Linked DNA regions of Homo sapiens: all the other regions are linked to region 1. Evidence: promoter capture Hi-C in 16 types of primary human blood cells and fetal thymus (Javierre and others, 2016). All regions are on one chromosome and are shown on one strand. The core of a region is centred on a gene start or on the middle of the fragment in contact, and the rest is flanking DNA. Distances in the headings are between cores, read along the strand shown.

Region 1 (3,336 bases), core at 461-2,960:
TACAGTAGGGAGTAGTTACCATGGCAGAGAGAAGAACAATGGGAAGGCATGAAGCTAGAAAGGTAGATTAAGACAACACTATGGAGTTCAGAATATATGGGCATATAATATAAACACATTACACATTTCCAAAACACATAGAGAAAAAATCCAGATACAACTACTCACTGACATACAAACCAACTTAGAAGTAGCCATTCATTCACTCGCAAACATTTTTTGAGTACCTACTACGTACCAAGTAGTACCACAGTACCTGTGGAGATAGAGAACTAATGTAAGCCATTCACTCCAAGGGCCTATCTAATAGGAAAGACGAGACAGTTTTTGCACAAAGTTCAATTAATGTTTTGTGTATATGAATAAATGTTTCCTATCTTTTCCTTATGCTCTCTCCAGGTTGCAACGCATCATTATCATCATCATAAATATATACAGTATACTATATGTAGAATATATAATATACATATTACATAAATTCATATAATTCCATGAAAGACTGGAAGGACATACTCCAAAATATATTTTTAAAGACAGGGTCTCGCTATGTTGGCCAGGTTGGTCTTGAACCCTAGGCCTGGCCTCAAGCAATCTTCCCCTGCCTCAGCCTCCCAAAGTGCTAAAATTACAGGCGTGAGCCACCATGCCCTGCCAAAACAGTCCCTTTACTAAAATATTAAACACTGGTTATCTCTATTCTTTCATTTGTGCCAGATATTTGAGCTAAGCCAGAAGAGAATTTTTTATGGTGATGGTTGTTTATATTATCATTACTATCGTTATTAGAATGACTGTACCATCTCTTTCCTCAACTCATTCATAATCTAGGAGAAAGGTTAAAAAAAAAAAAGGAATAAACACCAAGTACGTGGAACTGCACTATTTAGTGTTTTTGTAAGTCTTCCAGGCATTGTGTAGTAAGCGTGTAGAAATAATTGTAGTTTCTCCTCCAGTTATTTTCTCAGTTGGAGGAGAAAGATTCCAATAACTGTAAATAAATACGGCTGAGCCATATTTTTAAGAAATAAAAACGCATACGCTTACACACACACATATATATTACGTATATATACACTCCACCCGCCCCATTTACCAAAATGAAGAGCAGTACAGCTTAGTAGCTAAGAGCACGGGCTCTGGAGTTTACTTTCTTCCTGTCCTGCAGCGATTGTGGGGAAGTCAGGTCACCTGTCTGCCTCTCCGTTTCCTCATCTGTCAAATGGAGTTCTGGGTCCCTATAAAGATTCAGTGACGCGATATGTGAGGGGCTTGGAACAGTGACCGGCACGTAACCGCCCACAGGTTAACAGCTGCTATCACTTGGTGGGGTGATGGTTTGTATCCTATCGTTATTAATACGGCTGTCTCTAGATGAGCAAACATGCGCTCTCACTTCTTCCCACATTCAAGAATGGGGTCCCAAACGAGAGATTCGACGTAAACGTCCGCTCCCAACTAAGTTCTCAGGCGCTGACAACGACAAGAATTCCTCACACAAACGTAGCGCTTCAATCACTAAACCGCTTTCACAGCCCTCGACCCTGCCGCGAGATGTCCGCCGCCCACCGTCAGGTCACCGCCTCCCTAACGACTTCGGCTGCCCGGGCCCTGCCCCTGAACCTCGCACCCCTCCTGCCTCGTTCAGGAAGCTCCGCACCTATCCGGCCGCCACCCTCAGCACAGCCACGGCAGCCGACTCGGCGTTCCTACTGCCCCGGAAGTGCTCCTTCAGCGCAGAGGCGTGCCGGTGTGTCCGAGAAAACTTCCGAGTTAAGCCGCCGCTGAGGCCGGAAGGAGCTAGACGGCGGTCGGGTAGGTGACGGCTTGGTTGGGGTCGCTGCGAGGGGACTACTAGGAGCGCCGAGGCGTGAGTCGTAGCCTGTGGCTTGGGGTCGGGAGTGCAGGAGGCGAAAATGTTTGCCATTCTTTTGAAAGTCTGGCCTGGGTGTGGGAGTTCGGTCATCGAACACTTACTGAGAGCCAGATACCTGCCAGGCACTGCCCTGGGCTCCAGGGACACATCAGTCAACGAACGGAAGGGCCCTGCTCTCAAGCAGTGCGAAAAGCAGATTATAAACAAGTCAACAAACGGGATTATCTAAGGTGGTAGTAAGTGCTGTAAAGAAATTTAGACTGGATAATGTGATGGAACGAAGTGGGAGAGTAATAAGCCGTATGAAAATCTGGAATAGAGCATTCCAGGCAGAGAGAATAGCGCGTGCAAAGGCCATATAGTGGGAACAAACTTAGCAAAGTCAAGGAAAAGACAAAGGCCACTGGCTAGAGCAAAAGGAGCAAGGTGAGAATGGAGAGAGATGAGGCCAGGGACTTGAGCCCAAATCTTGTAAGGCTTATGAGCAAGGATAAAGAGTTTGATTTTTGTTTGGAATCCAGTGGAAAACCATTGAAGGTTTCTAAGCAGATGAATGACATGATCTGATTTATGACTCTAAGATTACTCCTGGGACCTCATCAGAAAGATGCAACTCTTCTGTTGCCCTCGAGCAGTGAAAATGCATGAAATCCAGACTGACAGAGCTAGTAAAATATTAAAATCAATCTTATTGTACAGATAAGAAAAACTGAATCCCAGAGAGGTGAAGGGACTTAGCCTTTAAGAACTCATGTTTTCCAACTCCATTTAATGCCCTCGGAATTATCATCTTAATTCCCAGATAAGAGTAATTGTCACTTCTAAAACTCTTCAGATATTTTCCTTTGCTTTTGACAGTGGTTCTCTAAATTTAGGTTCATCAATATCACCTGGAAGCTTGTTAAAATTCCAAAAAACAACAACAAAAAAACCCCTGCTTAAATATAAAATGGATCATTTCCTCTGATTTTCTGTTGTAATGGAAAATGCATAGAATTTGGGGCTAAAGTATGGAATCTTGGGAAGCCACTTATTTTTTAAATGCTGCTGATAATTATAGCAGCAGTTCTCAAACTTTTTGATCTTAGAATTTCTTTATACTTTTAAAATGTATTGAGAACTTCAAAGGGTTTTTGTTTATAATAGCTATCAATATTTACTATTTTAGAAAACAACTTTCAACAAAGGTTATTCATTTTAAAATAAACTCATTATATGTTAACATAGATAGCATTTCTGTAAAGGATATTTTCCAAAATGAAAAATTATTGAGAATGGCATTGTTTTACATTGTTACAAATCTCTTTAATGTCTGGCTGAATAAAAGACAGCTAGATTTTCGTAACTTCTACCTTCATTCTCTTACAATATCAATCATCATGTAACTTTTAGAAAATTGTGCCATATTGTGTGAGAATGTGAGTGAAAAAGGGATATGTCCTAATATTATGTAAATTGTTTTG
Region 2 (3,336 bases), core at 328-2,827, 6.4 Mb after region 1:
ATAACATGAAAGCTAGCTGAGGTGTTTAACAAAGAGTCTATAATGTGACAATAGAGATTTGTCTGATGTCTAAAAACTTAAATCTTTTTGGTTTAACAGCTTATTTTAGAAGCTGCCACTGTTTTTTCCTGAAAAGTATACCCCTCAATGTGTACTTTATTGACTTTTTGTGGCCATTAACTAGTGACAGTTATTAGATCTCTTAATTAGAAGAGCTACTTCCAACTCATTAAGTATCTATTGCTGGGCATTCTTTATTGCCGGTTCTACTTAGTTTCTAATGACTTTAATACTCAGTATTGAAAGGCTCTAAATCTGAGAATTCAGCCTCCTTGGGATCTTCAATTAGATTCCTTAAAGATCACTGGAGATAATTTACTGATAGTAAGGTCTACACTCCACCTATAGGAAACTGTATTTAGTTGTTTACCTTGTGTTGGACATGAGTATTTGAGAAGCATTATTATGTTTAATGTTTGACACTTTCCCAGGTAAGACAATGAAGCGCAGAAGTTCATTGATTTGTCAAAGATGTGAAGAGCTAGAAAATTATTAGAGCTGGTATTTTGATCTCAGTTCTGAGGTTGGAATCAAAATAGAGATGGCAAATGGTTGCTCATAGGTTTTCTTTTTGAGGGAGGGGGTGGATATTTTAAAAACCTTAATCATTTCCACTATTTAAAATTCCAGTGTTTCACCAATCTGGCTTTGGAGATTCTCTTGAAAAGAGATGTGTCCATAGTAGACCCTGTTTCCAACACTTGCTGGGGCTGGAGGTAGATTGCAGGCTGCTGCCTTTTAGGTGGAGTATAGGCTTTCTATCCCACAGACCCTGCCTTAAATGGCCTCAGTGAGAACTGAAGTGATCCTTTTACCTTTCATGTCTCTTCTGAGACCTAGCCTACTTAACTCACTTTACTCGCTTGGGCCATGTAGTAACCTGAATTTGACCCTTGCTTGATGCTAAGTTATATAAGAAGTCTTTCCCTTGATATATCAGTAGCTTCTATGGTCAAGTTAGAATGTGAACACTTTGCCATTGTCATTGGAGGAAGCTGAAGGATATTAGGCATGAAATACTAAGAACACCTACAACCGCTTATCCTGACTTTAAAACTTTTTACCTTCTAAATACAACTGAATCAGTGTGACTTTCTGGAATTAGTGGAAAGGCAGACTTCTAGGAGAAGATAATACCATAAGACTACTAGGGCACTTGGCTTTAGGGGAGAGTAATAGGTTTAGCATCCTCAGGTAAAATAGGGCTGCTAAGAAAACCAAAGTATAGGTTGGACACAGTGGCTCACACCAGTAATCCCAGCACTTGAGAGTTTGAGGTGGGAGGACTGCTTGATCCCAGGAGCTTGGGTTCAACCTGGGCCATGTAGTGAGACCCTTGTCTCTCAAAAATTAAAAATAATTAGCCGGGTGTGGTGGCGCATGCCTGTAGTCCTAGTTTCAGGAGGTTGAGGCAGGAGGATTGCTTGAGCCCAGGAGTTCAAGCTTACAACTTGAGTGGCTATAGTCATGCCACTGGGTGGTAAAGTGGGTGGTAGAGTAGCCTGGGTGGTAGAGTGAGATGCTGTCTCACAAAAACAACAAAAAAAGCAAAGTGTAGTTCTGAATGGCTTTCATACTCTGCAACACAAACTGAAGCTTTGGAAAATTGTCTTTTGTGGTAGAGGGAACCAAGGGCTGGGAGCAAGGGGACTAGTCAGTCCCTTACCAGTTAATTGCCGTCCTCTGGGTCAGAACTGAGTATAGAGGGATCTGATCTTTTCATCTGCTGTTAATCAGATTGCAATGTGCATAATGTGTGCTGAGACTGAGAACTTTAAGCAGATGCTCCTCCATTAATACAGATAATTTGCATCTTGTGGGGGTTGTTGCTATTTTGTTCTGACACTTTTTGAAATAAGACAGACTTTATTCATACCTTTACAACTCTGTAAACCTTCTGCATTTCTCTACACTACCTCTGAGCCTGCCTCTCAGGATACTGTACCTTCTTATAGTAGGAGCTAACAGTCAGGAATGCCATTATCTTGCTACCATTTCTTCTTTCTTATTACAAGTTGTATTTTTCTACTTTCCATGCCAGCCATGGATTTTACCTTTTTTCATGCTGGGTATTTTTACATTTCTATTAATATTCTTAAACTTTGTTCTAGAGTATGGGTAAGGTACCTAGAAGCAATTTGATTCATTTGAGACTTGCCTTTAATGTTAGGCATCACCAGAGCAGCATTTAGCCCAGGGCTCATTTCCCCCTACTACTGAAGTGTGAGATGCTTAGGACTCTGCTGCCCCCTGAATTATGAGGTTTTCCTGTCTAGCTGGTGGGAGCAGACACTATTCCCAGCCCTGTGTGGGCTTCAGGAATTCTTCCCTCTGATCTTTTCAGCTATATGGATCAGTGCTCTTCTGAATACTACAGGGAGACCCTCTGCAAATTTCCAGGGTTCTCTCTGTGCAGCTCTCTCCTCTCCAGTGCTCTGCTCTGCAAACTTGGCCTGCCTTGGCCTGACTCTGCTCTGTCTCTTCAACTCAGGAAATTCACTGGGCTCTGCCTGCCTCCCTTTCTTCCCCACTCTGAGGCCTGGAAACTCAAAAGTAGCCAGTAAGGATAGTCATCGGCCTCACCTCACTTATTTCACATTCCTCAGGCATCGCTGTTCTCTGTCGCCTGATGTTCACTCTTTGGGCAGCCCTCATTTCATATATTTTGTCTTGTTTTTTAGTTTCAGGCAGGAGAGTAAATCTGGTCCCTGTTACTCCATCTTGATTGGAATTGAAAGTTCCTTCTAGATATTCCTTTCATTTTTTTTCTTTTTTGAGACGGAGTCTTGCTCTGTCGCCCAGGCTGGAGTGCAGTGGTGCAATCTTGGCTCACTGCAAACTCCACCTCCCGGGTTCATGCCATTCTCCTGCCTCAGCCTCCCGAGTAGCTGGGACTACAGGCGCCCACCACCACGCCCAGCTAATTTTTTTTTTTTTTGTATTTTTAGTAGAGACAGGGTTTCACCGTGTTCGCCAGGATGGTCTCGATCTCCTGACCTCGTGATCTGCCGGCCTTGGCCTCCCAAAGTGCTTGGATTACAGGCGTGAGCCACCATGCCCGGCCTTTTTTTTTTTTTTGAGGTAACATTCACATAAGAAAATTCATTTAAAAATGTACAATTCAGTGGCTTTTAGTTCAGAGTATATGCAACTATCACCACTGTCTAATTTCAGAACACTTTCATCACCCCCAAAAATAAACCCATGCTCATCAAGCACTCATTCCCCACTTCATTTACTTTGGAATGATGTCCCTCTGCCACCAGGATGAAGTCT
Region 3 (3,336 bases), core at 519-3,018, 6.4 Mb after region 1:
ATTACCTTTTCCAGGATGCTTTCTTTCTGCTGTTCTTTGAAATCTTCTTTTTTGACTTTGAAGGACTTATACAACAGCTCTAGCTTTGTAGGATCTGCCTGTAGATGCACTTCAGATCCCTTGTCATAGGCTTCCCATGCAAACACTAGAGTAATTCAAAACATCTTAGTGAGTTGGCAGCTGCATTACTGTATGCTTCTTGAAAACAAGCTTTAAACAATCCCAAACGTCTTATGAGCTGATATAAAATGGCTTGACATAGAGGAAACACTTACACTGTGTCTGAGCCATTGAAATGGTATCTCCTGTGTACCTAACAAAGTTATCTCCAGCATAACTCACTCTGTAAATACAAATAAAGAAAATGTTTCAGAGATTGATTTAAGGAAAATTAATTCGTAAAACTGAATCTGAATTAAAATGAACACCATCTATGGTCAGGTCAGAAAACAATTAACTTTCTCTCATCTTAAAATCTGTACATTTAACTTGATACTTACTCATCTGGATTCTTTCCTGCATTGGCATAAGGATTCTCTCTCATTGCTCTAGTTTTTGGATCATAGTAGGCAGAATTTGGATCTAAATTCCTCAAATACTAGAAGAAAAAAATATTTAAAGAATTAATGTTTACTCACAGCAAAAAGATTTCAGCAGACTAGTTGGAGGAGTTGAACATGATCAATTAAATAAATGTGTGTATACATTTCTGGGGTTCAGGTGAAGAGAAAAAACAGAATGAAACCTTATCTTAGAATGACTCTGACTATATTATCCATATGCTACCCAGAGTCGATAAAATTTATGCTGGGAAGACAAGTATTTTTCAAATATGTATGTTAAGCTGACAAGACTTACTTTTGCAATATCTTCTCGAATCCTGAGATTCCGGACAGTAATTCGTCTCTTGGAGTCAAAATTCTGTCCAGGCATGTCAATATCATCTGCATATTTATCTTCATCCTCATCTTCACTATTATGATCTTTTTCCTAAAAGAGGGAGAGGAAGGAAAAGTAAGAAGAAAAGAAAGCAGCATGTAGTTCTTTTTTTTCCCCTTTCCCTTTAACCAAACCCTTATTTACTTGTGTTCTTTAAAAGCTATTATTAGTGTTATTTATTATTAGCCATCAGAAATTTAAAAATTTAACATATACTCAGAGACAGCAAATATGTATTACCATCTGAGAATTTGGTTCCTCTTCTCCCCACTGGTGTTTTGGAGAATTCTGCATCATGAAAGAAGAAAAATCATTCATAATCTCATTCCACTTAATCCAATTAACTTTATTATTAAGATAATAAAGTATTATTATCTTATTATAAATAATATATTTATATAATAAAATATATTTTATTATATATTATATTTATATTATATATAATAAATATTTATTATATAATATATAATATGTAACTTATAAATAAGTATTAAGATAATAAAACTTAATTCTAACTGAACAAACTCTCACACTTCTCAGTTATAATGAGCGCAAAAATTCTGAATACAAGAGTGCCATTGTAAATAATTTTATTACACTGTCTATAAAGCCAGCAAATTTCAAGAGAATTTTAATTAAGATTATAACCACAAAATGGTAACAGAAAGATTAAGATGTCCAAAGTACCCAATAAATATTAATTTCTAAATGTGTTAGTCTTCAGACATACTGTATTCATTAAACGTTACTAGTTTCCTAGTAAGTCCAAAAAGAAAATATTACTGGGTTCATGTCTTCACAGCCAAAGTGAAGTTTGGGCAATGAAAAAAATCTACAAGTGACACAGTATTGTAATTTAAGGAGAGGCCAAACTCCTTGTCACAAGGATACACTTTTCTTCGCTAGCAATTGGTCAGAATACTTTCTAACTCCACAGAATGCCTACACTAACGTGGTATTTCATCATGTCCCTTCATAAAGGCTTCAAAGATTAAAAATACTTAAAAAAAAAGAGAATACATTATAGCATTAGTGAGGAGATGCAGAAACACGTGTATGTATATATACTATATAGATGGAAGCATAAATCTGCATGGCTTTTCTGAATGATGGCTAAGTGATATGTCATAAAAATTTTAGAAATACAAACTCACTGAAATACACTTCTAGAAGGTTATCCTAGTATCATGTCAATTATATAAAGATGTATAAGAATGTGATGTGCAGTGTTGTATATGTGCAATGTTTTTTCAAAACACTGGGAAAAAATCAAATTAATAGATCACTGGTTATATAATGTATTGCACTCCATGGAACACTGAACGGCCATTAAAAGTGATTCTATCCAAGGGGCAGAAAAGTATGTATCGTTTCCTAACTTTTTTGATTAAAAAAAGGGGAGGGGAGAGACAGATAGGATAAGGGTATATATTTGTATTTGTATTTATTCAAGACAGTCTGAAAGGAGCCACACACATACACAAAAGAGTTGGGGCGAGGGGAAGTTTAGTGTTAGGGTGGATAGAAACAGGGGTGGAGAGACTTCGCTGTGCATCTTCTTAAATTGTTTTAATTTTTGAGCCATGTGAATTCATACAAAAATAAATGATGCTATAGGTCTATAAATATAGACAGAAAACACGTTCCCACTGTACTCTATGTTGTTAAATTAAAAAAGAAGGTAATAAATGAATATATAAAGATGGATTCATGTAAGAAACATTTTGTATTCTAGCACACATGAACAGGTATATGTGGACAAGAGAGACCTGGAAAGGCCTACTTCAAAATGTTCACAATTAACACAGGGATATTTTCTTTTTTATATTATGTTCTAATTTTTTTCCACTTAATATGTGTTACTTTCAAAATTAGAAATATAAATATTTTGTAAAAAATAATTTTTTTGAGTTCCCACTATTTGCTAGTTCACCAAAGACATTTACATACATTTCTATAGTGACAGCTAAGTCTCTAAATCTACTGTATGTGGTTCATCTTAATATCCAAGCATCCTGGGAGCGGGGAGAGATAGCATTAGGAGATATACCTAATGCTAAATGACGAGTTCATGGGTGCAGCACACCAACATGGCACATGTATACATACGTAACAAACCTGCACGTTGTGCACATGTACCCTAAAACTTAAAGTATATAAAAAAAAAATAATCCAAGCATCCAAGTGGGCAAAAATCATTAGCCCCTTACATACATTAAGTATCCTTACTGGGGAAATAAATTACATTACGTTTACAACAAACAACAGAGAATACATTAGAACAAAAGAAACAGGCCCTTTTTCTTTTCCCAAAGTTAGTAATAAATAAAAATAATCACAACAATAATAGCTACTAATTACCCAGTGTTTACTATGTGATATGTATATAAGCTTCCT
Region 4 (3,336 bases), core at 308-2,807, 5.7 Mb before region 1:
AAATCCTAGAGATGAAGGGATACATATAACATGCTCTACCTGAAAATGTTAAAACTAGTTTTGATATCTTATTATATATAACACTCATAGCAGTGAGAAAATATCTTTAACATTTATTACAATGATTTGTGGTAGGAAATTTTCTAAACTTGAGGTAGGAAACCTTTCTTACTCATGAGTATTCATTTCAGGTCCCACTACAGTGCTTTTTACAAAAGGAGGAATGCTAATAAAATGAAAATCATATTCCATTGAATTAAAAATTCAGGCCAATTGTGCTGAAATAAATCTTACTGAATGCCTTCTAAATATGCCATGCCCTGCACTAGAAACTTTCGTAATTCCTATTTATTCTTCAGAATAACCTGGGAAACAGAAAAAGCTAAAGTCTGTTTCCTTTATTAAAGTTTGAATATGAAGAAACCGACAGAAGCAAATAGCATAAAAATTCATTTTTGTCTTCAATTACAGGAAGAATGTAACATGAAAGCTGAGATTACAATGAATAGTACATGAATATGATGAGGTTTTGTTTTGTTTGTCCTACCAGAGCTCCAAATAAAAACACAGATATATGGTTTGACATACGGAATGGGATAGCTAAAACTGTGACTGCCTAAGACAAGCTGAAACCTAAGGTGCCGAACCATATTGGGGAAAGAGGGGAAAAACCAGTAGGTCTGCTATCAATCAAGAAAAGAATAAGAAGAAATGGGATTCCCAAGCCTTCTTCAGCTTTTTCTTCTCCAGCAGAATAGCCTAGTCAATGCTACGTCTTGTCAAATTGTGTCTCACATGGCTTTAATGCACACTAACTTTCCTAAGAAGTATTTGTATCTATTTAAATCTAGGGATTTTAGCCCATATTAATTACATGTATATTAGGGCAAGAACACAGGATGTAAAAGGTAAAAATCTGAATTTCAGTCCATCTGCGAGACATTGTGAAAATCAATTACACTCTCTGAAGACAATTCCTTATCCATTAAACAACAGAAAAGGTGATTAAGTTGATCCTTGCCTACATGTCAGAGTCGTGTAGAGTTTTTAATGACACTCATGTGAAATTCCTTTGGACTGTAAAATACTATTACTTACGTGCAAAGATAATGTCCCGAAATCACAGAAGGGATGACTTAACATTAACATCTTTAACTGCGCCCCCGTCCTTCCTCTCAAAAAAAAAAAGTTCTCTATTTTTAGTTGAATGATTCTGGGAAAATCTCTATTGGAACCTATCGACTTCGCAAATGACAAAGGCGAGGTCCAGAGACTTATCCAAGACCCCAGAGTACCAGTGGAAATCAAGACCAAACCACACGGTGGAGACTGGTTCCGACGTATCAGACTCAGTGCTTCCGGCATGGCGCTTTAGTGTCAGGTGAAAGAACAGCAACCCGCCCCGCTTCTCCACCCCTGACAAGCCTTCCGAAATGCCACGCTGAACATGGCTGCCGCGCTTCGATGCTTCTTCACACACACAATATGGACACGGGTTTGAGGCTCCAGCCCCGGATGACAACACTCCGGAAATATGCGAGCGGCGGCGGAAGCGGAAGTGCCTCAGCGGTAGGGGCCGGGGAAGTGTCTGTAGCGTCCCTCCCTCTCAACCACAATAACAGGCGGAGGGTCGGCGTAGGTGAGGCGGCGGCTGAGTGGGCCTGGGGACCGGGAGCGGGGTGGCAAAGCCCGGAGTGCGTGCGGCAGGGCTGAGGTAGCTGGGTGGGGATTCTGGAACTTCCGACCGCTTAAGCTCGGCCTCTGGCCCCCTTGGGGCCTAGAGCTCCTTGAGAGATCAGGGGTTGAATTTGTAGTTCCTGGCCTTCTAGGCCGTGCTTGCGGGGGTTGCCTGCTTGTCTGAACCTGGCCCCAAAATCCAGCATAAAGAACTCTCTCTGGGCCCCAGTTTCCTCAATGAAATGGGTGAGGGTGTTGGACTGGACAGCTTCTGTGACTGTCTCCCACCCCGGGCGTCACGAATTTCATGATTTTAATGTTAAGTCGGTGTTTCGGCCAGTAAAGTGAAGGAGGTCTGTGTTCAGCGTAGTGAGGAGATGTCCCTGAGCAGGAAGCAGTGAACACATCTTTGGCTGCCACGCCTGAGTATCAGGAGCCCTGAATTCTAGTTTCACCCCTTCCACCTACACACCGTGTGACCTTGTCTAGGTCCATTAGCTTTTCTGTGCTGCAGTTTGCTTATCTGTGTTGGATGCCTTTGATGTCCGTGCCCTAGCTGTGGAAATCAGATTCTTAACTCCCTTTTCATGGAGTCTTTACAGACCTGAAAAGCATATTCTCCCTGCACTCTGCACACCCAGAATTTGACTAAGAGATGTCTACCGTGTTTCTTTGCAGACACCAAGCTGGCCAAGGGCAACTGGTCACTTAGGAAGGTTCCTGTGCAATGAGAAGCTCTGTCCAGAAAACTTTGTTTTATACACCTAAACCAGCAGTGTAAATCACTACAAAGTGAAAAACAGGAGACCTTGATTTTTGTTCCAAAGTTGCTATTAACTTGATGGTTTACTTTGGCCAAATCCCTTCCTCTCTCTGAACTTGAGATTTTTTTATCTGCTAAAGGAAGACGTTGGATTAGGTCACTGGTTTTTAATCCCCTTTCCCATTCCCCCAGCACAAGTGAAGGATAAAATAATAGTTCTATAAAGCCATGATTTTCCCAGGGAAGGAGGAGGTCCAGTCTGGAGGGTATGTATTACATAGGCATAGACTGAAAAAAATCCGCTTGTAATTTTTAACTTTCATTTTGAGAATTAACATTTTAGATTATCTGTAAGCCTTCTTTCCCCTCTTTAAAATATGTGATGCTGTAATTCTGATGTCCTCCTTGGGTAAAGAATGTAGAGTTTTGTGTGCCTCTTTGTTTAAATGGCTGTGTGCCCAGAGGTACACACTTTATATTTAGTCAAACAGATACTAATGCATAGCAGAGGAGAAAAAGGGACAACTAGATTCCAGTAAGATAGGGTGATATAGTGAAGTAAAATTGGTGGTATACTAAAATGAAATAAGGTGGTATAGTGAAATAAAATTAAAAAGGAGTTGAAGACCTGTATCCCTGCTTCACACTGGTACATCCTGCCTCTGTGACTTTGGACAAGCCATCTAACATCTCTAGGCCTCACTTTCCTTATCTGTAAAACGAAGGGTTGAGCTGGATGATTCCTAGGCCTTTTTCAGCACCATCATCCTGTTGGGGGGTTTTTGTTTTGTTTTGTTTGTGTGTGGTTTTTATCTGAGCAGTTTGGTTTATGTGGTGTGGTATTTCTTTAGACAAGAGAGGCTGTCCTGGTCAGTAGATACACAAGATAGTCTATG

Evidence for each region. The method cuts DNA at HindIII sites, captures the fragments that hold promoters and counts their contacts. A CHiCAGO score of 5 or more calls a contact.
Region 2: a contact is called between a fragment that was not itself captured here and the fragment with the promoter of FAM114A2 in region 1, in 1 of 17 cell types (non-activated CD4 T cells). The highest score is 5.1, in non-activated CD4 T cells.
Region 3: a fragment that was not itself captured here is called in contact with the fragment with the promoter of FAM114A2 in region 1 in 1 of 17 cell types (total CD8 T cells); the score reaches 5.6 in total CD8 T cells.
Region 4: the fragment with the promoter of FBXO38 here is called in contact with the fragment with the promoter of FAM114A2 in region 1 in 1 of 17 cell types (naive CD8 T cells); the score reaches 5.7 in naive CD8 T cells.

Annotation. Positions count from the first base shown.
Region 1 is chr5:154,037,200-154,040,535 of GRCh38, forward strand. It overlaps FAM114A2 (family with sequence similarity 114 member A2), which reads right to left and starts at 1,711. Exons shown (of 14, transcript NM_018691.4): 1 at 1,658-1,711. It overlaps MFAP3 (microfibril associated protein 3), which reads left to right and starts at 1,768. Exons shown (of 3, transcript NM_005927.5): 1 at 1,768-1,812. The HindIII fragment of the contact is 2,878 bases long and covers 1-2,768 here.
Region 2 is chr5:160,428,784-160,432,119 of GRCh38, forward strand. No RefSeq gene overlaps it. Among named protein-coding and RNA genes, the nearest start is that of PTTG1, 8.6 kb to the left of the region's middle. The HindIII fragment of the contact is 153 bases long and covers 1,502-1,654 here.
Region 3 is chr5:160,407,471-160,410,806 of GRCh38, forward strand. SLU7 (spliceosome associated SLU7) reads right to left here. Exons shown (of 16, transcript NM_006425.5): 7 at 1,180-1,227; 8 at 859-990; 9 at 501-598; 10 at 276-343; 11 at 6-145. Among named protein-coding and RNA genes, the nearest start is that of FAM200C, 9.1 kb to the left of the region's middle. The HindIII fragment of the contact is 3,120 bases long and covers 209-3,328 here.
Region 4 is chr5:148,382,401-148,385,736 of GRCh38, forward strand. It overlaps FBXO38 (F-box protein 38), which reads left to right and starts at 1,558. Exons shown (of 22, transcript NM_205836.3): 1 at 1,558-1,639. It overlaps FBXO38-DT (FBXO38 divergent transcript), which reads right to left and starts at 1,450. Exons shown (of 5, transcript NR_105057.1): 1 at 1,099-1,450. RefSeq lists an enhancer at 1,335-1,534. The HindIII fragment of the contact is 17,680 bases long and covers 1-3,336 here.